Linked DNA regions of Homo sapiens: regions 2, 3, 4, 5, 6 and 7 are each linked to region 1. Evidence: promoter capture Hi-C in 16 types of primary human blood cells and fetal thymus (Javierre and others, 2016). All regions are on one chromosome and are shown on one strand. The core of a region is centred on a gene start or on the middle of the fragment in contact, and the rest is flanking DNA. Distances in the headings are between cores, read along the strand shown. Region 1 holds the start of CEBPD (CCAAT enhancer binding protein delta). Region 2 overlaps SPIDR (scaffold protein involved in DNA repair). Region 3 overlaps SPIDR (scaffold protein involved in DNA repair). Region 4 overlaps SPIDR (scaffold protein involved in DNA repair). Region 5 overlaps SPIDR (scaffold protein involved in DNA repair). Region 6 overlaps SPIDR (scaffold protein involved in DNA repair). Region 7 overlaps SPIDR (scaffold protein involved in DNA repair).

What was found. Contacts are between HindIII fragments. The CHiCAGO score rates a contact against its expected background, and 5 or more counts as called.
Region 2: a fragment that was not itself captured here is called in contact with the fragment with the promoter of CEBPD in region 1 in 4 of 17 cell types (monocytes, M1 macrophages, M0 macrophages and 1 more); the score reaches 11.8 in monocytes.
Region 3: a contact is called between a fragment that was not itself captured here and the fragment with the promoter of CEBPD in region 1, in 3 of 17 cell types (monocytes, neutrophils and M1 macrophages). The highest score is 11.4, in monocytes.
Region 4: a contact is called between a fragment that was not itself captured here and the fragment with the promoter of CEBPD in region 1, in 3 of 17 cell types (neutrophils, M2 macrophages and M1 macrophages). The highest score is 8.9, in neutrophils.
Region 5: a contact is called between a fragment that was not itself captured here and the fragment with the promoter of CEBPD in region 1, in 5 of 17 cell types (monocytes, neutrophils, M2 macrophages and 2 more). The highest score is 11.9, in monocytes.
Region 6: a fragment that was not itself captured here is called in contact with the fragment with the promoter of CEBPD in region 1 in 1 of 17 cell types (neutrophils); the score reaches 6.4 in neutrophils.
Region 7: a fragment that was not itself captured here is called in contact with the fragment with the promoter of CEBPD in region 1 in 1 of 17 cell types (monocytes); the score reaches 5.4 in monocytes.

What each region holds. Positions count from the first base shown.
Region 1 is chr8:47,736,370-47,739,873 of GRCh38, forward strand. It overlaps CEBPD (CCAAT enhancer binding protein delta), which reads right to left and starts at 1,795. Exons shown (of 1, transcript NM_005195.4): 1 at 544-1,795. The coding sequence starts at 1,751. The coding sequence ends at 942. RefSeq lists an enhancer at 819-1,757 and silencers at 1,154-1,343, 1,834-1,943, 1,984-2,063, 2,154-2,623. The HindIII fragment of the contact is 19,422 bases long and covers 1-3,504 here.
Region 2 is chr8:47,379,183-47,382,686 of GRCh38, forward strand. The region is part of intron 5 of SPIDR (scaffold protein involved in DNA repair); the gene reads left to right. The region is part of intron 1 of LOC107986940 (a long non-coding RNA gene); the gene reads right to left. Among named protein-coding and RNA genes, the nearest start is that of SPIDR, 120 kb to the left of the region's middle. RefSeq lists enhancers at 2,017-2,553, 2,554-3,089. The HindIII fragment of the contact is 1,420 bases long and covers 857-2,276 here.
Region 3 is chr8:47,403,791-47,407,294 of GRCh38, forward strand. The region is part of intron 6 of SPIDR (scaffold protein involved in DNA repair); the gene reads left to right. Among named protein-coding and RNA genes, the nearest start is that of SPIDR, 140 kb to the left of the region's middle. The HindIII fragment of the contact is 4,676 bases long and covers 1-3,504 here.
Region 4 is chr8:47,422,111-47,425,614 of GRCh38, forward strand. The region is part of intron 7 of SPIDR (scaffold protein involved in DNA repair); the gene reads left to right. Among named protein-coding and RNA genes, the nearest start is that of SPIDR, 160 kb to the left of the region's middle. The HindIII fragment of the contact is 6,012 bases long and covers 1-3,504 here.
Region 5 is chr8:47,438,472-47,441,975 of GRCh38, forward strand. It overlaps SPIDR (scaffold protein involved in DNA repair), which reads left to right. Exons shown (of 20, transcript NM_001080394.4): 8 at 1,852-2,071. Among named protein-coding and RNA genes, the nearest start is that of SPIDR, 180 kb to the left of the region's middle. The HindIII fragment of the contact is 3,630 bases long and covers 1-3,504 here.
Region 6 is chr8:47,458,440-47,461,943 of GRCh38, forward strand. All of the region lies in intron 8 of SPIDR (scaffold protein involved in DNA repair), which reads left to right. Among named protein-coding and RNA genes, the nearest start is that of SPIDR, 200 kb to the left of the region's middle. The HindIII fragment of the contact is 1,557 bases long and covers 921-2,477 here.
Region 7 is chr8:47,479,045-47,482,548 of GRCh38, forward strand. The region is part of intron 8 of SPIDR (scaffold protein involved in DNA repair); the gene reads left to right. Among named protein-coding and RNA genes, the nearest start is that of SPIDR, 220 kb to the left of the region's middle. The HindIII fragment of the contact is 9,555 bases long and covers 1-3,504 here.

The sequences.
Region 1 (3,504 bases), core at 545-3,044:
CAGTTTTGTGACTGCCCTTTTCATCCACTACATGACTATTCCGGCCTTTCTGGAGCACTTTTGAAAATCTACTTGACTCTGTCCACAAGACTGAGGAAAGTGAAAGCAAAGTCCCGGGAAAGCGGGAGATGATTCAGCCCGGGGTTCTGCCCCTCGCCCCTCCAGCAGCCTCTACAGTTAGGGAGCTCTTGAACTGTTCTCAGCAGGGGCCCCCAAAAAGTCAACCCTTCCCCAGGTCTGCGTTCTTCGGGAGAACACCTTCTGCTGGAAAGCTGCTAGCTTACCTGAGCTCAGCCGTGCTCCACCTAGCTTAGGCAAGTTAAATAAGGCCAGGAGAGAGCCTTTAATGCGTTTTAAAAGCGACAGACCCTCTCTCCTGAGTAGCTCGGGCCTGCGCCCCATCCCCCCGCCCCCCCCACACACACACCTGGCGCCCGGGCTCCCTGGTGCTCGCTGGCTGCGGGTCCGGAACGCACCCTTCCCGAGCCGGGTCCTGCGCCACCGGCGGGCGGGCGGGAGTCACTGCGAATATAGGAAGCAGGGGCGATTTCAAATGCTGCTTTATTCTTACAAATACTGTAAAAATTAATATAAAAAAGTGAGCATGCTCAGTCTTTTCCTCTTATCTACAATACAAAGGGTTTGTCTGAAAAGTCTGGTTTTTTTTCTTTTTACAAATGTACCTTAGCTGCATCAACAGGAGTAAGATGTAGAAAAAGCTACCATTACAAAAATAATTTAAGGGAAAATAAACACGTTTAGCTTCTCTCGCAGTTTAGTGGTGGTAAGTCCAGGCTGTAGCTTCTTTGCGCTCCTATGTCCCAAGAAACTGCAGCGGGCACCCGGCGGCTCTGGCTGCGCCAGGGCAGGGCGCGCTCCGCTCCGGGCCGTCGGGTCTGAGGTATGGGTCGTTGCTGAGTCTCTCCCGCCCCGGCCGCGCGTTACCGGCAGTCTGCTGTCCCGGCGGCCGGCAGGAAGGGCGGGCTGGGCAGCTGCTTGAAGAACTGCCGGAGGCCGGCCAGGTCCCGCGTGAGCTGCTCCACGCGCTGGTGCAGCTTCTCGTTCTCAGCCGACAGCTCCACCAACTTCTGCTGCATCTCCTGGTTGCGCCGCTTGGCCTTGTCGCGGCTCTTGCGCACGGCGATGTTGTTGCGCTCGCGCCGCTGCCGGTACTCGGGGCTGCCGCGGTCCGGGCCCCTCTTGCCGGCGCTCTTCTCCCGGGCGGGGCCGGGCGCGGGGGTCTGCCTGGGGCTGCTGCGCGGCGGCTCCGGCGACGTGGGCGGGGTGGGCTGCCCTGCGGCCGCCAAGCTCACCACGGTCTGTGCGCACGCGGCCACCTGCGCGGGCAACAGCGAGCCGGGCGCGTCGCCGTCGCCCCAGTCGGGCTCGCGCTTGAGCAGGCGGGGAGCGGCAGGGCCCGGGCCCAAGGGGCGCGCGGGGCCGCCGGGAAGAAGCTCCAGGGGCCCCGCGCCGCCCGCCTTGTGATTGCTGTTGAAGAGGTCGGCGAAGAGCTCGTCGTGGCACAGCTCCAGGGTGGGCACGGCGGCCATGGAGTCGATGTAGGCGCTGAAGTCGATGGCGCTCTCGTCGTCGTACATGGCGGGGGCGGCGGCGCCTGGCTCGCCTAGGGCCCCTGGCTCGGCCCCGCGGCCCGGCTTGCCCGCCCGGCCCGGTTCGTAGAAGGGCGCAGGCTCCGCAGGCCAGGGCGCGCCGCGCGCCGGGCCGTCCAGGCTGAAGAGCGCGGCGCTCATGGCGGCGTCGGGCCGGGCTCTGCGTCCAAGCGAGGCTGTCACCTCGCTGGGCCCAGCCCCGCCGCCTTTTCTAGCCCCGGCTGACGTGCACGCCCCGCCCCGACTCCGGCACCGCGGGGGCGCCCCGGGGCCGCGGGGGAAGGGGCGGGGGCGCCCTGGGAGCCCCCCGGAGCCGCCCCGAGCCTTCCCGGGGCGCGCCCCCTCTCAGTTCCTCCCCGGGGCCCCCTCCCCGGCCCTGGGGACCCCCAGCCCACGTTGCAGGAGGGTGCCCGCGCTGCTGCTCCCTCCCCGGCCCGGGCCGGCCTGCGCTGCGCTGCTGGGAATGACACTCCCTCTGCCAGCACTCCAGGGCCTTCTCTTCTTCCTGTTTGTGGGCTTGGAACCTCCTCGCTCCTCGGGGTTGGGAGTGAAATCAAAACCAGGACTTGGCCGCAGCGCGCGCGTCCCAGGCCGGCTCCTGTCGCCGGAGGGCGGGGGGTGGAGACCCGTGGGAGAGGACCCGCGCGTCCAAGGACGCCCCCCGACCGTGGGCACGCGCGTGAGGCCCTCGCCCCGCGCCTCCACCGTGGGACCAGATGCGGGAAGAGGCGTGGGGGACCAGACGTGGGGACAGCGGCGGCCTGGCAGGCGGGGAGGGCTGCCCGCACCGCACTCGGGCGCCTCGGGGAATCCGGGCCGGTTCTCGCTGCTCTCCTCGGAGGTCCCGGGTCCGGCCGGCCCTGGGGGTCGAGGCCCAGAGACGCGGCTGCTGCGTCCTGGCCGAAAGGCCGACGGGACGCTGTCGCCAAAAGCAGAGCAGATGGGGGAGACGCGGTCACGACACCGCGTCCTCCGCCGGCTCCTCGAGGTGCGGGCTCTCCGGCCGGACGCTACTCCCCGACCCCGCAGACCCGGGCGTCCGCCGCCAGCTCCCGCGCCCGCGTTTCTTCCAGGTCTACGGAAGCAGTGCCATCGTGTGGCGGCATCTTGCGTTAGACCTGTTTTTAGTTCCAGGCTCTTTCCCTGTTAAATATTCCAAAAAAGTGCCTTGAACCTAAAGTAGTTGGGTCCTTTTTGGGAAACAGGTAAGATCTACCAGTAGCTATAGCAGGGTGCAGATGGGCCTCGACTCACGATGGGGTTACATCCCGGTAGACCCATCGCACACTGAAAATGTCTTAAGTAAGAATGGGCTTTGTCATGTGTCCTGCAATTTGAGGCAGGCATTTCTGGTCAGACCCATTTATTATTTTAAATTAAAAATATGGTTTTTTTCAGCCGAGCACAGTGGCTCATGCCGGTAATCCCAGCATTTTGGGAGGCTGAGGTGGGCGGATCACTTGAGGTCAGGAGTTTGAAACCAGCCTGGTCAACATGGTGAAACCCCATTTCTACTAAAAATACAAAAATTAGCCAAGCGTAGTGGCGTGCGCCTGTAATCCCAGCTACTCGGGAGGCTGAGGCAGGAGAATCGCTTGAACCCGGGAGGCGGAGGTTGCAGTGAGCCGAGATCGTTCCATTGCACTCCAGCCTGGGCGACAGAGCGAGACTCCATCTCAAAAAAAAAATTGAGATGGGATCTCACAATATTGTCCAGGCTGGTTTCAAACTCCTGGGCTTAAGAGATTCGCCGGCCTCAGCCTCCCAAAGTGCTGGGATTACAGGCGTGAGCCACCATGTCGGGCCCAAATCCATTAAATCACTATCGCTAGTCACACCTGCTCCATGTCGAGTCTCTTCCTGCGCAGGCCTCTCACCAGATCTGCGTCGGAAC
Region 2 (3,504 bases), core at 317-2,816, 360 kb before region 1:
CAAAATAATGGCTTTCCACAGGAATGCCTGTGGGCTGTCATGAGATTATTCGCCTATATTCAACATATAATAAGAAGTTAGAAGAGGCTGGGCTTGGTGGCTCACGCCTGTAATCCTAGCACTTTAGGAGTGGGCGGATGGCTTGAGTCCAGGAGTTTGGGACCAGCCTGGGCAGCATGATGAAACCCCATCTCCACAAAAAATACAAAAATTAGCCAGGTGTGGTGGTGCACACCTGCAGTTCCAGCTACTCGGGAGGCTGTGGTACACCTGGGAGGCGGAGGTTGTAGTGAGCCAAGATAGCATCACTGCCCTCCAGCCTGGGTGAATTGGGTGAAAGAAGAAATCATGGAAAACTTCACTTGCAAGAGCTTTTCATTAAAATGATTAAAATATAAGATTTTAGAGAATTCAGCTCCATGAGGTACAGTGAAACACTGGTTAAATTGTGGCTAAAGGAGTTTAGGAAAGACTACTTACTGCAGACTCCTCGTAGAGGGCACAGTGCACACAAGCATATTCAAGGTTTCTGGGGCCTATGACAAGGCCTGTTTAACTTTATTCACCTGAGTGTATTCAAGCCCATGTGCCTGCGGAGCTCTGTGTCCCCTTGATCCCTGTTGCCTTTGCTCCTTGTGGAGCTTCTGGGTGAGGAGCACCCCCTGGGCCCACAGCTCAGGGCTGTCCACTCACTGGTTACTGCTTTTGCTTTTCTTTATTGCTTTTGTTATCCTAGAACACTCACCTGGCTTGATTCCTCTGAAATTTGCTACCTTCTCAGGACTTCTCTCTCAATTTCTTCCATTTTCCCCACCCATTGTGTAGCATTTTAATTCTTTGCCTTGAATAAAAATAAAGCTTGGCTCATAACCAGAAGCAACCTGTCTTGCCTTGGGTCCAGGGGCATAAGTGAACAGATTTATTTTTAAAACATGCCATCGTGTTTGTTTCTACTAATTTTGAGGCCCAGGTTTTGAGTGTAGGTCTGAGTCGATGACCTCTCAGCCTGCACCACAGCAACGCGTGCTGCCCCTGCCTGGGCCTGGCAGAAGGCTCCCTTGCAGCAGCTCAGGACTCACACTCACTGAGCAGGTTTTAAAACACACAGAATGGCCAGACAGGTCGTATCACAGTTTGTGTCAGAATTCCACAGGTGTACACTATTTTTTTTTGGAGAAGGGGGTACTTTTCATCTGTGATCACTGCAGACAAGGTGCGTCAGGACCTCGGAGGACCGTGTTGCTGGGCGGGGCCTGCTGTTTGCTGTGGAGCCCCCTGGCCCTGGTCACTGCCGCCTTCTCCACCCTCCACTCCTGCTTGGTGAACTTTGACCCGGCAGGTGCCTTTCTTGAGCCTCGTGATTCCCCTCCCCTCTTGCCCCGCTGTCTGTCATTTCTCCTTGGGCTCCTCAGAGCAGGTGCCAGGCTGACGATAGGTGGAGGGGGCTTCTGTAAGCCAGTCCATAGGTTTGAGTTAAGTTCTCTCCTTCTCACTGAGCTGCAGCTGAGGTTGGAAACATGTATCTAGTTTAAGGAAGGCAAGCCAGGTGGTTTTCAGAGGTGTAACTATGGGTGTAGCTTGTTAAACCTGTTTACCTCAGAAAATATTTTTTTCCTTGAATGTATGAGAAAACCTGTAGCTTTTGTTTTGCCTCTCACTAGCTGGCTGATTTTCACGGATAAAGTTTCAGTCACAAAAAGCACACCATGTAAACAGTGAAAGGAGATCTCTTATTGGTGGCTTAAGCCTTTCTATTGTCTGGAATTGGTGTTGCTTTATTGGTTTTAATTCAATAGAAAATAAAATTTTGTTAGCAACTGGGAGTCCAATATACTCTTTATTTTGTGTTGTTTTGCTGTTCTTTTCCACACAACCAGTGAAGTTCTTAACGCGTAAACAGAGAGCATTCTACATGAATTAATGTGTGTATGTGTGCCATGGCTGCACTGGGGTAATAGACCTGTGGATAAAGACTTTGGGTCCCTCCCTCCTTCCCTCCCTCTGTACCCATTGTACCCAGAATGATTCCTGATACACAGGCACTCAGTTAATGTGTTACATGAATAAATTTCATTTTAGAAGTGAGAGTGGAAACGCAGGCATATGATAACCAAATCTATTGACCTGTCAGCCACCAGTACTCTTTCATTCCCCTCAGTGTGAAGAGCAGTCTTGGTTTTGATTATTTTACTTGCCATGGTGTATCTTCTGTAGCATTTTTGTTGTTGCTCTTACCATCCAACCTCCTTAAAACAGTGGTTTGTATGGGATTTAAAAGCTTCTAGGCAGCCAGGGCCTTCTGACTCTTTGTTCTTTCCTTATGGTGCTACTGACTGTGCTCGTTTGTAGTGTGACTTTAAGAAAGGGAGGCTGAACTCAGGATAGGCAGGGTGAACTTGGCATAACACTGCTCTGGGTGTTCTCAGAAGATCCTATTCGGGCAGGTCTGGGCCTGGTCAGTAATTGGGTGGGAGGCCTCAGAGAGCAGAAACCAGCGATTGGCAGGAAGTGGCATGGGCAGCTCACCTGGCCTGCGAGTCTGGGCTCAGCTGGACCTGCCCCACGTGGCACCAGGCGCACAAGGTGTCCTCACAGAGCCGCCCCGTGGCACGCCTTTGCATGTTGGCCAAGACCAAAGACTTGAGACTTTTGTTTTTGCATGAAATATGAGTCAAGTGAAGTTTTATTTCTTATGATTGGTTATCTCAAATAATGATATTAGTTTAGTTACCATCCTCCCTTTGTTCTACCAGCTGGGTAGCATTTAGCTACAAAGGTGTAATTTTAAAATAAGGATGTGATAATTTATTAGTGATATTCCATTATTGCTCTTGGTGTGACCTTTCTATAAATTTTAGAATCAAGAGCTTTAATTTCTGAACATTAAAGAATGGTGTTTCATCTGGCTAATTTGTTTCATACCAAAGAGGCACTGCTTCATCTTGAAATTAGACTTCAATGTCTTCCTGACTTGATAGCAGACACAGGTTTTCATCTAGGAGGACCCTACACGTGTAGACTGTCATACATGGACTTAGATTAAGATTTGATTGATAGGAACTGGGACACTGCAGTTCAAGGGTAGCACTTCAGGTATTCAGGGCAATCACAAGAAGTTTTTCTGAACATTTCATAAAGAAATGTGTAGGTAAGATTACAGGAAGTAACATTAGCTTAAAGAGTAGCAATTGAATTATATAAAGCATTGTGCTAATTAATTTTTAAATTTAAAGTTTTTTCTCTTTTTTTGAGATGGAATCTCGCTCTGTTGCCAGGCTGGAGTACAGTGATGCAATCTTAACTCACTGCAACCTCTGCCTCCTGGGTTCAAACGATTCTCCTGCCTCAGCCTCTGGAGTAGCTGGGACTACAGGAGTGCACCACCACACCCAGCCAATTTTTGTATTTTTAGTAGAGACGTGGTTTCACCATGTCGGCTAGGATGGTCTCGATCTCTTGACTTCGTGATCCACCCACCTCGGCCTCCCAAAGTGCTGGGATTAA
Region 3 (3,504 bases), core at 291-2,790, 330 kb before region 1:
AGATTCAATGCCATCCCCATCAAGCTACCAATGACTTTCTTCACAGAATTGGAAAAAAATACTTCAAAGTTCATATGGAACCAAAAAGAGCCGCATTGCCAAGACAATCCTAAGCCAAAAGAACAAAGCTGGAGGCATCACGCTACCTGACTTCAAACTATACTACAAAGCTACAGTAAGCAAAGCAGCATGGTACTGGTACCAAAACAGAGATACAGACCAATGGAACAAAACAGAGCCTTTGAAAATAATACCACACATCTAAAACCATCTGATCCTTGACAAACCTGACAGAAAGAAGAAATGGGGAAAGGATTCCCTATTTAATAAATGGTGCTGGGAAAACTGGCCAGCCATATGTAGAAAGCTGAAACTGGATCCCTTCCTTACACCTTATACAAAAATTAATTCAAGATGGATTAAAGCATTAAATGTTAAACCTAAATCTTAAAAACCCTAGAAGAAAACCTAGGCAATACCATTCAGGCCATAGGCAAGGGCAAGGACTTTATGTCTAAAACACCAAAAGCAATGGCAACAAAAGCCAAAATTGACAAGTGGGATCTAATTAAACTAAAGAGCTTCTGCACAGCAAAAGAAACTACCATCAGAGTGAACAGGCAACCTACAAAATGGGAGAAAATTTTTGCAGTCTACCCATCTGACAAAGGGCTAATATCCAGAATCTATAAAGAACTTAAACAAATTTACAAGAAAGAATCAAACAACCCAATCAAAAAGTGGGCAAGGGATATGAACAGACAGTTCTCAAGGGAGGACATTTATGCAGCCAATAGACACATGAAAAAATGCTCATCATCACTGGCCATCAGAGAAATGCAAATCAAAACCACAATGAGATACCATGTCACACCAGTTAGAATGGCGATCATTAAAAAGTCAGGAAACAACGGGTGCTGGAGAGGATGTGGAGAGAAATAGGAACACTTTTACACTGTTGGTGGGACTGTAAACTGGTTCAACCATTGTGGAAGACAGTGTGGCGATTCCTCAAGGATCTAGAACTAGAAATACCATTTGACCCAGCAATCCTATTACTGGATATATACCCAAAAGATTATAAATCATGCTGCTATAAAGACACATTGACACGTATGTTTATTGTGGCACTATTCACAATAGCCAAGACTTGGAACCAGCCCAAATGTCCTTCAGTGATAGAGTGGATTAAGAAAATATGGCACATATACTCCATGGAGTGCTATGCAGCTGTAAGAAAGGATGAGTTCATGTCCTTTGTTAGGGACATGGATGAAGCTGGAAACCATCATTCTGAGGAAACTGTCGCAGGGAAGGAGAACCAGACACCGCATGTTCTCACTCATATGTAGGAGTTGAACGGTGAGATCACTTGGACACAGGAAGGGGAACATCACACACCGGGGCCTGTCATGTGGTGGGGGGATGGGGGAGGGATAGCATTAGGAGAAATACCTAATGTAGATGACGAGTTAACGGGTGCAGCACACCAACATGGCACGTGTGTGTGTGTGTGTGTGTGTGTGTGTGTGTATATATGTGTGTGTGTATATATATATGTATATTTAACAAACCTGCACATTGTGCACATGTATTCCAGAACTTAAAGTATAATAAAAATAAACCAAAATTTTAAAATATTGTATTTACAGTCATTTTAATTGTTTATTCTTTACCTGGTTGTATAGCTTATTAAAAATATTTTGACTGTAAATCAGTTGGAATATTTTTGAATCTTTATCCTTCTTTACTTCTCCATATTGTTTTTATAGAAATGTTTACCAATGTCAAATTGATACCAGTCATCTTTTGAGATAGGTTACCAGTCTGTTAATTTTATAGAAAAGATAATTAGGATATCTTAACTTGCTGAGTGAATTCATCATATTTTTATTCCATCGGAGTTTGGCCTTTATAAATAACTTATCTGGCTACGTTCAAAAGAGTTAATTTGGATATAGATGGCAGGGCCTTCCTGAACTTTTGGTATGACTTAATTTTTTTTAACATGAGATATGTTTTTACTAGAAATAGGATTGTTGATTAGAGGACATGGTGTTTCCTAAGCTCAAGTTCTTAAGTTCAAGTGCATGTGACTGGAATTCCCTGCATAACAGGCCCTAATGGCCAAACTCAGGTGAGATGCAGATTTTTTCTGAGGGCTCCAGATACTGCTGTGTGTAGAGAGCGCCTGTGCATGTTTACTGTTGCTTTTACCTTTCATCCTGTAATCTGCACAGTTTTCTTACGAGGTTCTAGGCTTGACTTTAACCAGATAGTTTTTTCAGAGTTCATTTTGCCTTTTTTTTTTTTTTTCTGTAAGGTCACAGCATTGAAAAGCAACATTTGGCAAATAATGTTCTAGATAGTTGGGCAAAGAATACAGCATTTGCTTCTTGTATTTATTGTGCATATCATTTTAAATAATACTGTTTAAGAGGTGCTAGGTATATTATCAAGACTAAGAGTTTGAACTCTGGAACCAGACTGCCTAGGCGTGCATCCAGCTACACCACTCATTAGACATTTCACCTTGGACAGATGTTTAACATCTTGGTGCCTCAGTTTGTCATCTATAAAGTGGAATAATAATAGTACCTACTTCACGGTGTTGTGTAAAGGGGAAGCATAAACGAGTTACTTCATGTAAACAGAATGATATGAAGAAGGGCTTAATAGGAAGTAGAGGTTGACATGTAGAGGTGCTATGGCATATTTCTGAGCATAAGAGGTTTTAACTTTTTTTCTGTTACATGTACTACACGCAAGTATATTCAGAAATAGTAACCTATAGGAAAACATACTAGGTGTCTCTATAGGTATTAATACTAGCAATATTATGTATTTATTAAAATATTTCCATCATAATGGAAAGATCTGTATATAGGCTGCAAGTGAAAAACATAACAAAAACAGTTACACCAATCATGGGCATTTTTTGAAGGTTTACTAAATGCCACGTGCTGCACTAAGTCCATTCTGGTTTTAACAGCTAGTTCCTCATCTGGTTAGTTACGTAATGCTGGAGAAGTTTCTTAACCTCTCTCTAAATTCTGGTTTTATCATCTGTGCAGTGGGTACTGATATCTGTTCTTTCAGTCTCAAAGGGATATTATTTGAATAAAGGTAATGTAGTGAAATGATTAATGAATTGGTAACAAGATAATAAACTTATGAGATAATACATTGATACCCGATATAGCATGTAGCTATAGTGGTAATTAACAACTGATCTTAATTTTTCTTGAAATTATAGTTATGTTAGTAGTTGATAACTTCTCTTTCTCTCTACATATGCATGTATTTATTTACTTATAATTTACATACACCTATATATTTATAAGCATAAATATATCTCAGTAAGTATATGTGTTCATTGATAGGTTAATGCTCTTCTGCAGTGCCTGCATGTCTGTCGTTATAAATTGTCTTTCTGCTATACATGGAAGTTTTCTTTTTTATAACATTGGTATCTTTGCTGTGTGTTTGTGATTGATACTCAAA
Region 4 (3,504 bases), core at 515-3,014, 310 kb before region 1:
GGAGAACCACTACTCTCTTCAAAGCTGTCAGACAGGGACTTTTGAGTCAGCAGAGGTTTCTGCTGCCTTTTGTTTGGCTATGTCCTGCCCCCAGAGGTGGAGTCTACAGAGGCAGGCAGGCCTCCTTGAGCTCCAGTGGGCTCCACCCCGTTTGAGCTTCCTGGCTGCTTTGTTTACCTACTCAAGCCTCAGCAATGGCGGGCTCCCCTCCCCCAGCCTCACTGCCCCCTTGCAGTTTGATTTCAGACTGCTGTGCTAGCAATGAGCGAGGCTCTGTGGGCGTAGGACCCTCCGAGCCACGTGCGGGATACAATCTCCTGGTGTGCCATTTGCTAAGACCATTGGAAAAGCGCAGTATTAGGGTGGGAGTGACCCGATTTTCCAGGTGCCATCTGTCACCCCTTTCCTTAGCTAGGAAAGGGAATTCCCTGACCCCTTGTGCTTCCCGGGTGAGGCGATGTCTCGCCCTGCTTCGGCTCACGCTCTTTGTGCTGCAGCCACTGTCCTGCACCCACTGTCTGACCATCCCCAGTGAGGTGAACCCGGTACCTCAGTTGGAAATGCAGAAATCATATGTCTTTTGTGTCGCTCACGCTGGGAGATGTAGACTGGAGCTGTTCCTGTTGGGCCATCTTGGCTCCACCCCTCTGCAGTGAATTCTAATACATCTTTCTAGGCTTAAGAAATTTTTTTTTAACATCTTTGGTATGTGGATGTCAGTTTTTCCTTTGTTCCCTCCTGAGTAGCTGACTTTGCTGGGCTGTTTTATAACTCCTACTTGTAACTTTTAAGAATCAATGTTATCTTCCTTGTTGGTGGCTTCTAGTACATTTCAGTATAAAAGACATATATCTCAAGATTCTTTGTGATACACTGAGAAGGTATTGAGTTTGACTTTAAAAGAACAGCCAAAGGCCGGGTGTGGTGTCTCATGCTTATAATCCCAGCAATTTGGGAAGCCGAAGTGGGTGGATCACAAGGTCAGGAGTTCGAGACCAGCCTGGCCAACATGGTGAAACCCCGTCTCTTCTAAAAATGCAAAAATTGGCATGTTGTGGGCTCCTGTAATCCCAGCTACTCGGGAGGCTGTTACAGGAGAATCGCTTGAACTGGGAGGTGGAAGTTTCAGTGAGCCGAGATTACGCCACCACACTCCAGACTAGGTAACAGAGCGAGACTCTGTCTCAAAAAAAAAAAAAAAATAGAGCAGCAAGAGCCAGGCACAGTGGCTCATGTCTGTAATCCCAGCACTTTGGGAGGCTGAGGCAGGTGATCACTTGAGGCCAGGAGTTTGAGACCAGTCTCACCAATATGGCGAAAAAGTACTAAAAATACAGAAAAACTAGCCAGGTGTGGTGGTTCACGCCTACAATCCCAGCTATTCTGGAAGCTGAGGCATGAGAATCACTTGAACCTGGGAGGCAGAGGTTTTTGTGAGCCGAGATCACGCCACTGCACTGCTATCTGGGCAACAGAGCAAGACCCTGTCTGAAAAAAAAATAAAAATAAAAAAATAAAAGAGCAGCAAAAAGCACAGATGTTGCACCCAAAGGCCTTGCAGAGAATGCAGTTTGATGAAATGGCATGGGGTGGGCAGGGGAGCCCAGATCATGCAGGGCCTGGAGGCCTTGGCTGGGTTTCACTTCCAAGGTAGTGCCTTGGAAACCTGCACTTTAAAATGTAGCTGTGGCATAGAGAATGGACAGCTATAGAGGCAAGGGGAAAATACGTTCTATTTATCTTCACGAATCATTGTATTTTTCTTTTTTTAAAAGAGGAAACAGTTTCCAACATTGCTTTGCTCATTATCTGCATGATGGTGAACAGTGATTACTAAGTGATACTCAAAGCATTTTGCATGTATATTAATCACAATTACCCTTCCAGTTAGGTCCTGCTCTCCTTATTTTAGAGATGAGGACAATGCAGACACAGGAGAATATGGATGGGTACAGCCTTGTGTGCCTGCCAGTGGGTAGCAGAGCCAGATTTACATTGGGCAGCCTAACTTGGTGGCCCATGTTCATAGCCTACTTGTTTTAGGGGCAGGTCTGGGCAGAACTGAGTTCAGGAGATGTGAGTGCAGCAGTGGTTGCACCCTGGCTCCGTTGTTTGATCTCTGTTTAGTAACAGGGTGACAATTTTTTTCACAATATGTTTGATATCATAGTTTTTAAAACTAAAAGTAGTTACAAATGTTCTTTTATTTTTTTGAGTAGGGTCTCCCTCTGTTGCCCAGGCATGAGTACAGTGGCACCATCACAATTCACTGCAGCCTTAACCGCCTGGGCTCAAGGGCTCCTGCTACCTCAACCTCCAGAGTGGCTGGGACTACAGTCACATGCCACCACACCCAGCTGTTTAAAAAAAAATTTCTTTTTTTTCTCTACAGAAATGGAGTCTTCCTATGTTTTCCAGGCTGGTCTCGAACTCTTGGCCTCAAGGGAACCTCCCTTCTCAGTCTCCCAATGAATTGGAATTACAGGCGTTAGCCACCATACCCGGACCCTTAGATGTTCTTAAATGCAAAAAACCTTCTTTGTTATACAGGAAGAGAGTAAAGAAAAAAGAAGAACCAGTGATAACAAAGAAATTGATGGGCTTCAGATAAATTATTTTTCATGATGAAATTTTTTGGGGGAAAGGGAAAGGTCTTGCTCTGTTGTGCAGGCTGGAGTGCAGTGGCGCAGCCTTGGCTCACTGTAACCTCCGCCTCCTGGGTCCAGACAATTTTTGTGCCTTCTGAGTATGCTGGGATTACAGGCGCCTGCCACCACCCCTGGGTAATTTTTGTATTTTTAGTAGAGCCTGCCTCGGCCTCCCAAAGTGCTAGAATTACAGACATTAACCACCTTGCCCAGACTTTAACTGCCTATTCTTAAGCAAGATACTTTATTTTTGAAATTTAAGATCACTTCCGTTAGCTAATTTAAAAAAATGATTCTTATTTAAATTGTATTATAGAGGGTAAGCAACCAAGTAATATTCTCAGTGTTTTTCAATCATCCAGATGAAAATTTTATATATGCTCATATTTCTGTGTTTATTCTTGTTGTGTGAAGTAAATGCTTTACTGGTCACTATATCTGGTGGTGGAGATGGGATAGTGGGAAGTGAGGGTCACAGGTACCAAGCTGGCAGGTCACATTCATTTACTCAGCAGTTGCTCAGCAGGGGCCTCCAGTGTGCCAGGCTCCTTGCTGGGCTCTAAAGATACACTGTGAATAAGCAAGATCTGGTCACTGCACCCTTAGACCTTCTCTTTTAGTGGACTAGATGGATGACAAGCAGAGAGAGAAAATCGGGACAGGTTAGTAAAGTGCAGGGTCTGCATGGGCATGGTAGGAGCTGTGCAGGACAGGCTATGGAAGCGAGCTTCATATTTACAGTGGGTAAATACAACCTCTGTCTAGTTTCTCAGCCAGAATATCAATGTGAGGTGCCTAAACAGTTTTGGGATGGTGGAAGTTTTGCTATCTATTTGTTCTTGCTAGAAAAATTATA
Region 5 (3,504 bases), core at 546-3,045, 300 kb before region 1:
CTTCCACATTATCCTGATTTCTTTTCCAGTTTACCAATTGAAGATGAGCTACTTTTCATTAACAAAATGCCTGTTGTGGCGAAGCATCTGTGTGTTCACTTCTTAGTGCCTTTCTTTACAAGTTGGTTTCATTCCTCTGTTCCCTTCCCTAGAGTGACCAGCAGAAGCTCGTTATATGCTGCTTGTACATTGTGCTTATTCATATCCTTCCCCCATTCTGTTTTCTTGCCTTAAGAAATAGTTGTCCAAGACAGTGCCCAGAAATAGTTGCCTTAAGAAATAGTTGTCCAAGACAGTGCTTAGGGGAGGCAAGGTGGCCCAGGGCCCAGTATATGGACATGTGTCATGGACACCTACATAAAGGAAGGGATGAAAAATTTGGGGTTGAATGGGAAATGAATGAAAAAAAAGTGAGAGGGAGAAAGAAATAGATGATTAAAATCTTAGCACCGTCTAAATATTAATTTTTACTATTCACTATTAACCTAGTTGGCTGAAGTGGTAAAGAAACTCATATTAGTGAGTATCTGTTATTAACAAGGCAGTATGTTGTACCCTTCATTTTTGTTGTTCTCAGTTTATGTATTTTTTTATTTTTTTTAATTAAAAAGCACAGAGAATAATAGAAACACATAAGCATGCTCACTGCCTAGAATTAGTAACACATGTCAATCCTTTGTCTTTTTTTAGTTTCCCATAGTTTTATAATAGAAACAATATGACACATAAATTTGAAACCCTCTGGGTTCCCCTCCTGAGTCATACTCCTCTTTCTCTCTCCTTAGAGACAGTGGCTTTCATGACTTTTCTGTGAATCCTTCTATTTATGTTTTTATACTCATCTTGTATTCATAAACTATTGTATTGATTTCTGTGTTTTTTAAAATTACATTATAGGTGTCATACTCTGTATATCCTGTTTATCCCCTTTCATTTCTTGAGACCTCTCCATCTGATTCTTAGACGTCTACTTCACCTCATTTTAAGTGCCGTACAGTGTTCTGTTGTATGAACACACCATGGTTTACCCATCTTTCTGATTTATGCTGGGTGCAGTTTTCTACTCTTATAAACAACGCTGAGATGTGTATCCTTGTTTAGGTATATTGGTGCATCTGACAGTTTCTGGGTACCTACCTAAGATTTCTGGGGTATAGGCTATGCACACTATCAACTTCAGTTATCTCATTTAATCTGAACAAATGTTTCCTGGGGCAGGTGGCAGGATCTCCATTTTACACATAAGACAATTTAACAGTTGAATGCCATGGAACTTGGCCAACTTAATAAGGAAACCAGCACTTGAATCCAGATCAAATTCCACCCATTTCAATCTAGAGCTCTAATACCCAGCAGTCCACATAACTCTTCAACTGTTAGCCTTTCTGATCATTGGAACAGCTGCAGCCAGCTAGTAACATACATGATTTCAAAGCAGAGAATCAAAACAGATAATAAAGAGGAGGGTCCATCCTTAAGAAGAATCCACAGTGGCCATATTCTCCTTGTGGTCATCAAAGGATTTCAGACTTGGAGTAAAACGCATGCTCCTTAAAATGACGGGTCTAAGGTTTCTATTTGTACAGGACTATTTCTTCATGACAGAAGACTTTATTTTATGCTGCTTAAAATCCATGTATTAAATGCAACATGCAGGCCTATTTTGATTAAAGAAAAGTGTTATAGTGAGCATCGTAGTGTCTCTGTTTTACTTTGCAAAATGTGGAGACCATTTTCTCCAGGTGAAGAGTGCTATCTGCATGTGGATCTTTTTTTCATGACACTTTATTCACGCTTGAACCATCTGTCTTTTGATTTCATTTTTGCTTTGTTCTTTTCTTCAACTTCTAGGTAGAAAATCTGGTGTATTAACTGTGAAAATTTTAGAGCTGCATGAGGAATGTGCCATGCAAGTTGCCATGTGTGAGCAGTTATTGGGGTCACCAGCCACCAGCTCCTCCCAAAGTGTGGCTCCCAGGCCTGGAGCTGGCCTGAAAGTTCTCTTCACCAAGGAGACTGCAGGCTACCTCAGGGGCCGTCCCCAGGACACTGTCCGGATCTTCCCTCCCTGGTGAGTGCGCAGAACTTAATCCAGCAGTCACCAACTGTGAGTCAGCCTCGTAAGAAAAGACATTTTTATCAGTTACATTTTTGTCACTTTATCATAGAGCAATGCGAGAGGAAGAGAGCCAGGATTGGACGTGGGTTTTCTGTCAGAGAAGCACTGGATTGTCTCTGATAGCTCATTTCTAGTTCTGTCAGCATATTTCTGATAATTTGGGGTGAGAGGGTTGAGGAAACAACCATATTAAGACTCTTGCCCAAGTGATGTGTTATAAGATCTGGCTGTTTTTGTTTTTATATTTCTTAGAAAAATAATTTTGTTAACAGGCATTATGTGACAGTAGGATAACACACATTAATTAAATATTTCTTAGTCACTTGGGAGGATAAAAAGCATGAATTAAGATATACTAGTGTTTGAATTGCAGGAGCAAAAATGGTCATTATTGGATCAGAAATTATTTTAAAGGATACTATGTGTGCTGTCTTTTGCAGTGGGATATTGATTTTTACCATGAATAGAAGAAAATCATACTACTTTTGAGGAAAAGTTTGAGCAGCCTTGTTTTAAGAGCTAATTATTAATTTTTTCGTAATTTTTTATAAGTTTTCATTTTGTATGTATGAGGAAGGGCTATAGGATAAATTTTTATAAATATTATTGCTGGATCAGTGCTTCTTTAATTTTAGCAGACTTTGTCAAATGGCACCATTTTACGTTCCCACTGGCAATGCCTGAAGTGCCTTTTTCTTCTCCTTTACAAACCTACTTTGTTGATCTAGACCAAGTTAAAAATTGGAAATATGATGTTTATCATTTTAATTCATATTTCTCTTATATAAAATGGGCTTAGGCATTTTTCTACATGTTTTTAAGAACCACTTGAATTTCATTTTATGTCCATTGATAGCTTTTGACCTTTCTTCTCTTTGGTCACTTTGGTCCTGGTGATTTCTACCATCTTTTTATAAATGATTAAAAAAAAAAGTAGTGCCTTGTCAGTCATATACATTGCAGTTAGTTCGTTCCCCATTTACCATTTGACTTTTTACGTTTTTAGGGGGCAGGGGTTTGTTTTGTTGCTTTGTTTTTGATGAGCAGAACTTTTCTGTTTTTCTGTGGTTGATTTTAGCCATCTTTTATAGCTTCTGGGTTTTGTATCATAGATAGAAAGGTTTTCCTTACTATGAGGTGTAAAAGTTATTCTATGTTTTATTCTAAGACTTTCATCGATTTAAAAATTTTTACATTTAAATCTTTTGACACTCCTGGAATTTATCTTTATGGGTAATATGTGAGGTAGTGAATGCAATTTTATTTTTTTCCAAATGGCCACGAGGAGTCCCAACATTATTTATTGAACATTCTGTTTTTTCTTCATACAATTTTAATGCTGCCTTTATCATGTACTAAATACCTACATATATTTTGGGCTATTT
Region 6 (3,504 bases), core at 449-2,948, 280 kb before region 1:
GTCATTGATGCTGTGTAGCAGAGCTCCTGATTTGTGTACATTAATTTTGTATCCTAAAACTTTGCTGAATTCGTTTATCCATTCTAGGAGCTTTTCGGAGGAGTCTTTAGGGTTTTCTAGGTATGCAATCATATCATCAGCAAACAGTGACAGTCTGACTTCCTCTTTACTGATCTAGATGCCTTTTACTTCTTTCTCTTGTCTGATGGCTCTGGCTAGGACTTCTAGTACTATGTTGAATAGAAATGGTGAAAGTGGACATCCTTGTCGTATTCCAGTTCTCTGAGGGAATGCTTTCAACTTTTCCCCATTCAGTATTATGTTGGCTGTGGGTTTATTACATTGAGGTACATCCTTGTATGCTGATTTTGCTGAGGATTTTAATCAAAAAGGGATGCCAGATTTTGAGGGATGCCAGCTTTTGTGAAATGCTTTATTTAAACTGTGTCTGTTGAGGTGGTCATGTGATTTTTGTTTTTAATTCTTTTTATGTGGTGTATCACATTTATTGATTTGCATATGTTAAATTGTCCCTGCATCCCTGGTATGAAACACACTTGATCATGGTGGATTGTCTTTTTGATAGTTGGATGCGGTTAGCTAGTATTTTGTTAAGGGTTTTTGCTTCTGTTTTCATCAGGGTTATTGGTCTGTAGTTTTTTTGCATGTCTTATGTGCTTTCCTGGTTTTGTTATTAGGGTGATCCTGGCTTCATAGAATGATTTAGGGAGGATTGCCTCTTTCTCTATCTTGTGTAATAGTGTCAATAGGATTGGTACCAGTTCTTTGAATGTCTGGTAGAATTCAGCTGTGAATCTGTCTGGTCCTGGAAGTTTTTTTTCTTGGTAATTCTTTTATTACCGTTTCAACCTCGCTGCTTTTTATTGGTCTGTTCAGGGTTTCTAATTCTTCCTGATTTAAGCTTCCTGTATCTTTCCAGGAATTTATTCAGCATCCTCTAGGTTTTCTAGTTGATGTGCATAAAGGTGTTTATAGTAGCCTTAGATAATCTTTTGTATTTCTGTGGTGTCAGTCTTGATATCTCCCATTTCTTTTCTAATTGAGCTTATTTGGATCTTCTCTCTCCTTTTCTTGGTTAATCTTGCTAATGATCTGTCAGTTTATCTTTTCAAAGAACCAGCTTTTTGTTTCATTTATCGTTTGTATTTTTTTTGTTTCAATTTCATTTAGTTCTGTTTTGATCTTGGTTATTTCCTTTCTTCTGCTGGTTTGGGTTTGGTTTGTTGTTGTTTCTCTAGTTCCTTGAGGTGTTTCTCTAGTTCCTTAGATTGTCTGTTTGTACTGTTTCAGACTTTTTGTTGTGGGCATTTAAGGCTATGAAGTTTCCTCTTACCACCACCTTTGCCGTCTCCCAGGGCTTTTGATAGGTTGTGTCACTATTATCTTTCAGTTTGAATAATTTTTTAATTTCCATCTTGATTTCACTGTTGACCCAGTAATCATTCAGGAGCAGGTTATTTAATTTCCATGTATTTGCATGGTTTTGAAGGTTCCTTTTGGAGTTGATTTCCATTTTTATTCCACTGTGGTCTGAAAGAGTACTTGATATAATTTCAGTTTTCTTAAATTGATTGTGACTTGTTTTGTGGCCTATCATATGGTCTATCTTGGAGAAAGTTCCATACACTGATGAATAGAATGTATATTCTGTGTTTGTTGGGTAGAATATTTTGTAAATATGTTAAGTCCATTTGTTCCAGGGCATAGTTTAAATCCATTGTTTGTTTGTTGACTTTCTGTCTTGATGACCTGTCTAGTCCTATCAGTGGAGTGTTGAAGTCCTCCACTATTATTTTTGTTGCTGTCTATCTCGTTACTTATGTCTAGTAGTAATTGTTTTATAAATTTAGGAGCTCCAGTGTTAGGTGCATAGAATATTTAGGATTGTGATATTTTCGTTTTGGACAAGGCCTTTTATATTAGGTTGGTGCAAAAGTAATTGTGGTTTTTGCTATTTTTTTCTGTCCTTTTTAACTGCTGTTGCTTTAAAGTTTGTTTTGTCTGTTATAAAAATAGCTACTCCTGCTCAGTTTTGGTGTTCATTTGCGTGGGCTGTCTTTTTACACCCCTTTACCTTAAGTTTATCTGAGTCCTTATGTGTTAGGTAAGTCTCTTGAAAGCAGCAGATACTTCTTATCCATTCTGCTATTCTGTTTCTTTTAAGTGGAGCATTTAAGCCATTTACACTCAACATTAGTATTGAGATGTGAGGTACTGTTTCATTCATCATGCTATTTGTTGGCTGTATACCTTGGTGGCTTTTTTAATTATTATATTTTTGTTTTATAGGTCCTGTGAGACTTATGCTTTAAAGAGGTTCTGCTTTCATGTGTTTCCAGGATTTGTTTCAAGATTTAGACCTCCATTTAGCAGTTCTCATAGTGCTGGCTTGGTAGTGGCGAATTCTCTCAGCATTTGTTTTTCTGATAAAGACTGTATCTTTCCTTCATTTATGAAGCTTAGTTTCACTTGATACAAAGTTCTTGGCTGATAATTGTTTTGTTTAAGGAGGCTGAAGATAGGGCCCCAATCCCTTCTAACTTGTAGGGTGTCTGCTGAGAAATCTGCTGTTAATCTGATCAGTTTTTCTTTTTAGGTTACCTGGTGCTTTTGCCTCACAGCTCTTAAGATTCTTCATTTTGACTTAGATAACCTGATGACAGTATGCCTAGGCAATGATCTTTTGTGATGAATTTCCCAGATGTTCGTTCTTGTATTTGGATGTCTAGATCTCTAGCAAGGCCAGGGAAGTTTTTCTCAATTATTTCCCCAAATATGTTTTACAAATGTTTAGATTTTTCTTCTTCCTCAGGAACACCAGTTATTCTTAGGTTTGGTCATTTAACAGAATCCCAAACTTCTTGGAGGCTTTGTTCTTTGTTTTAGATGGAGTCTCGCTCTGTCACCAGGCTGGAGTGCAGTGGCACAATCTCGGCTCACTCCCGGATTCAAGCGATTCTCCTGCCTCAGCCTCCCAGGTATCTGGGACTACAGGCACCTGCCACCAGGTCCAGCTAATTTTTGTATTTCTAGTAGAGATGGGTTTTCACCATGTTGACCAAGATGGTCTCGATCTCTTGACCTCGTGATCTGCCCACCTTCACCTCCCAAAGTGCTGGGATTATAGGTGTGAGCCACTGCGCCCAGCCTGTTTGTTTTTTAATTATTTTTTCTTTCTCTTTGATGGATTGAGTTAATTCAAAAACCTTGTCTTTGAGCTCTGAGGTTGTTTCTTCTGCTTGTTCAGTTTTATTGCTGAGACTTCCCAGAACATTTTGCATTTCACTGTTTTATTTCCTGAAGTTGTGATTTTTTTTTAATTTATGCTATTTCACTGAAGATTTCTCCCCTCATTTCTTGTATCTTTTTTTTTATTTCCTTAAATTGGACTTTATCTTTCTCTGATGCCTCCTTGATTCGCATAATAATTGGTATTATGAATTCTTTTTTAGGTAAATCAGAGATTTCTTCTTGGTTTGGATC
Region 7 (3,504 bases), core at 582-3,081, 260 kb before region 1:
CAGTGAAAAAAAAAATTTAAAGAAAGGGATGTGGGGCGGGGTGCAGTGGCTCACGCCTGTAATTCCAACACTGAGAGACTGAGGCAGGCAGATCACTTGAGGCCAGGAGTTCGAGATCAGCCTGGCCAACATGGTAAAACCCTGTCTCTACTAAAAATACAGAAAATTAGCTGGAGTGGTGGTGGGCGCCTGTAATCCCAGCTACTCAGGAGGCTGAAGCAGGAGAATTGCTTGAACCTGGGAGGCGGAGGCTGCAGTGAGCCGAGATTGCACCAGTGCACTCCAGCCTGGGCAACAGAGTGAGACTCTCTCAAAAAAAAAAAAAAAGAAAGAAAGGAAAGAAAAGAAAGACATGTGGAGCACAATTCTGTCTTACTTTGCTGGAAAGTATCTTATAAGAGAAGGTTTCCCCTGCTCTGACTCCCATAGCAGGTACAACTTCTGTCTCAAGGTCATAAACAGGCTCCTGTGGTGAGCTTAGCAGCACAGCCCACAGCGGAATTCCACTCCCCAAGTAAAGTGGGGCAGTAGGGGGGAATGCAGGGAGAGCTGCACCTGATCCTGTGGCTGAGGTTCTCCTTCAGGTGGTAAAGCAGCCATGAGCAGGGGCTGGGGAGTGGCCTGAAGCCAGCCTGCTCTTTTCAGACCAGGAAGGGAGGGGCTCAGGGCAACTTGTCAGAAAGGAATTTGCTACACATTCTAGTGGAAAGTTCTTGTAGACTAATAGAACTGTAAGTTTGGGGAAGTAAGGCTTATCAGTTTTAGAAAGCAGAATAGCTTGTGCCCAAGAACTGAACAGCAGCTAGGAACACTAACAGTTCAAGTCCATAGTGCTGTGAGAACTACAATAGCTTCTTCAGTGTTTAGCATCCAGTTTCTCTTAGTTTGTGCCTCATGATGTTTTGAGCTTTAAATGAATCACAGTAAAAAGATTTGACCACCAGCCAAAAAAGGTGAATTCATCTCATTTGAGGCTCAGGGTGAAAGAAAAAGTAAAATAATATCTTGGAGAACTTCTTCACCTATTTTACCAGTATTTTCCTGTTTAAAGTCTACCTAATGAAGAAAAATGTATCCATCCACTACTCATGAGAGCCTGCCTAAGTTCGAGACCAGCCTGGCCACAGTTGAATACTGTGCTGGGCACTGAAGATTTAGAGGTGAATATAAAGAAAAGGCAAGATGGATTTAATGTCTAAAGTAGAAGATTAGGAGGAAAGCAATTAAGCAGTTACCTGATTTAAAATGTTACCCTACAGTGTTCATGGAATTGTTTAAAAGCTATATCTTAGATACAAACATGTTTGTCTCTTAATGTGTGGGTTAAGTATTTGATTAGATGAGTATGTCCTAATTGAGTAATCCAGGAGGAAAGGTCCTAAATCCCTGAAAGTAATAGCATGTACTATTTTGTTAAAATGTAAGGTCTGTACTTGAAACTTTCCAGCTCTTAAAAATGAGGAAATTCCAAGCATTCTGCACTAATAGATAGTGTTAGTGGGTAGTTGGTGGATGACGTCAAATGTCAGAATGGTGAACAGCTTCGTTCATATAAACTGAAAGTGTACAATCTGGGATCAAGTGTTCTCGCTGCTCTCAGGGATCGGCGCACAGCCTGTGTGCTCCCATGTGGCCTGACTTGGATTTCAGAGTTTATATGAGGCACAGCTGAGAGTCTGGAAAAGGCACAGCATCTTCTCCTTCCTGTCCAGATGAGCCAAGTGAGCAGGAAGGGTCTCAGCATCTATTCCTGAGGCCCTATGAGAGGTTTCTTCATTCCTTTATAATGATTAAGCCCTACATTGGGAATGGGTTTGATTTGTCATTGTACAAACTTCAGAGGCTTTAATGGTAATTTTATTAACCTTGCTGGACCTTATGGAATGTTGATAAAAGCAACCACTCTTTGTTATGAAAGCAAAAAGAGACATTGAAAAGTTAGTTCAAGATAATTGGCAAAGCCAGCTGCCATGATGAGATTGTTGAATAGTGATGGTGGTAATGGCAGAAAAGGTGAAGGCTCTTTCTTGAAAGACAGCACAGGAATCACCGCTCTAATGCTATCTTTGTGATGTTACTGTTGAATATATGTGAGGTGCTGCTGTCTTCTGACTGACTTCTTGGTCACTATCACAGTGTTATGACTGCTATAAGGTGTAATGGTCTTTTCTCGTCATTACATTCTGTTTAGGTTTTGTATTGTATGAGAGAGATCTGGGGAAAGAGATATATAATTGGACATTTGTATATATAATGTTAAGTGAAAAACTGAGAGTTGTAATGCAGCTCTAAGTTCCAAGATTGATGGTTGGCCAGATGCGTTGGCTCATGCCTGTAATTCCAGCACATTGGGAGGCCGAGGTGGGCAGATCACTTGAGGCCAGGAGTTCGAGACCAGCCTGGCCAACATGGAGAAACTCCGTCTCTACTAAAAAAAGATAGAAAAATTAGCAAGGCAGGGTGGCACATGCCTGTAATCCCAGCTACTCTGGAGTCTGAGGCAGGAGAATCGCCTGAACCTGGGAGGCTCCATCAGGGCACTGCCTGTTTTGCTTACCACTGTATTTCTGGCCACTTCAGTGTTTGTGTTCAATGTGTATTTAATGACTATGGACAGAATGAATACAAAGGAAAAAAAAGAACTTGGAGGTAGGAAAACAATTGTGGGAGACCAGCCCATGTGAGTGACCAAGCTGATTATATGATTGACAAGGTTGACTCTACATAATTGAGTTTTAAAAAAGACTAGAAAGGACCACTTGAAGTCATTGAAGGGAACTCTCTGGAGATAGTGGAGTTCTTAGTCTCTGCCCTTTGTTCTTAAAATATTCAGCTGCATTTTAGGTAAGGTAGTGATCTGCCTTCAATTGCAAATAGTTGATAATATCACTTTTAATGTAGACTAAAGCCAACATTTTTCATGTATTGTTCTATTTGGAGTAAATAACACATTTTGGCATGGTTCTTCATGTCTTAGCATCTGTCAGTTTTCATGTGAGGACTCAGTTTACAGGTTATATACAGCACATGTTGAGCGTGGTCAGTGGGTATTTGTACCTGAAGTACGTACTTCCCTTCTGTTGCTGATATTGTCATGAGCAGTTCCACCCTCAGTGTTTACCTCTATGCTTTGAAATCTTCTCTCAAACGCATATTCATTCCTATTTTTTGTACCCTTTGGGATTCCTCAATCTCATATACATCTTTCCATTTCTGACCTAATCCCAGCACTTTGGGAGGCTGAGCCGAGCATAGTGGGGTGTGCCTATAGTCCCAGCTACTCAGGAGGCTGAGGTGGGAAGATCACCTGAGCCCGGGAGCTGGAGGTTTCAGTGAGCTCAGATGTGCCACTGCATTCCAGCCTGGGCTACAGAGCGAGGCCCTGTCTCAAAAAAAAAAGTCTCATGACTTCGTCTCCTAGATGAGACCATCTCTAGCTGATGCCTTTGCTTGCATTCTCATGTGCAGGGCCAGCAGATACTGATGGAGCAGATGTTCTCTGAG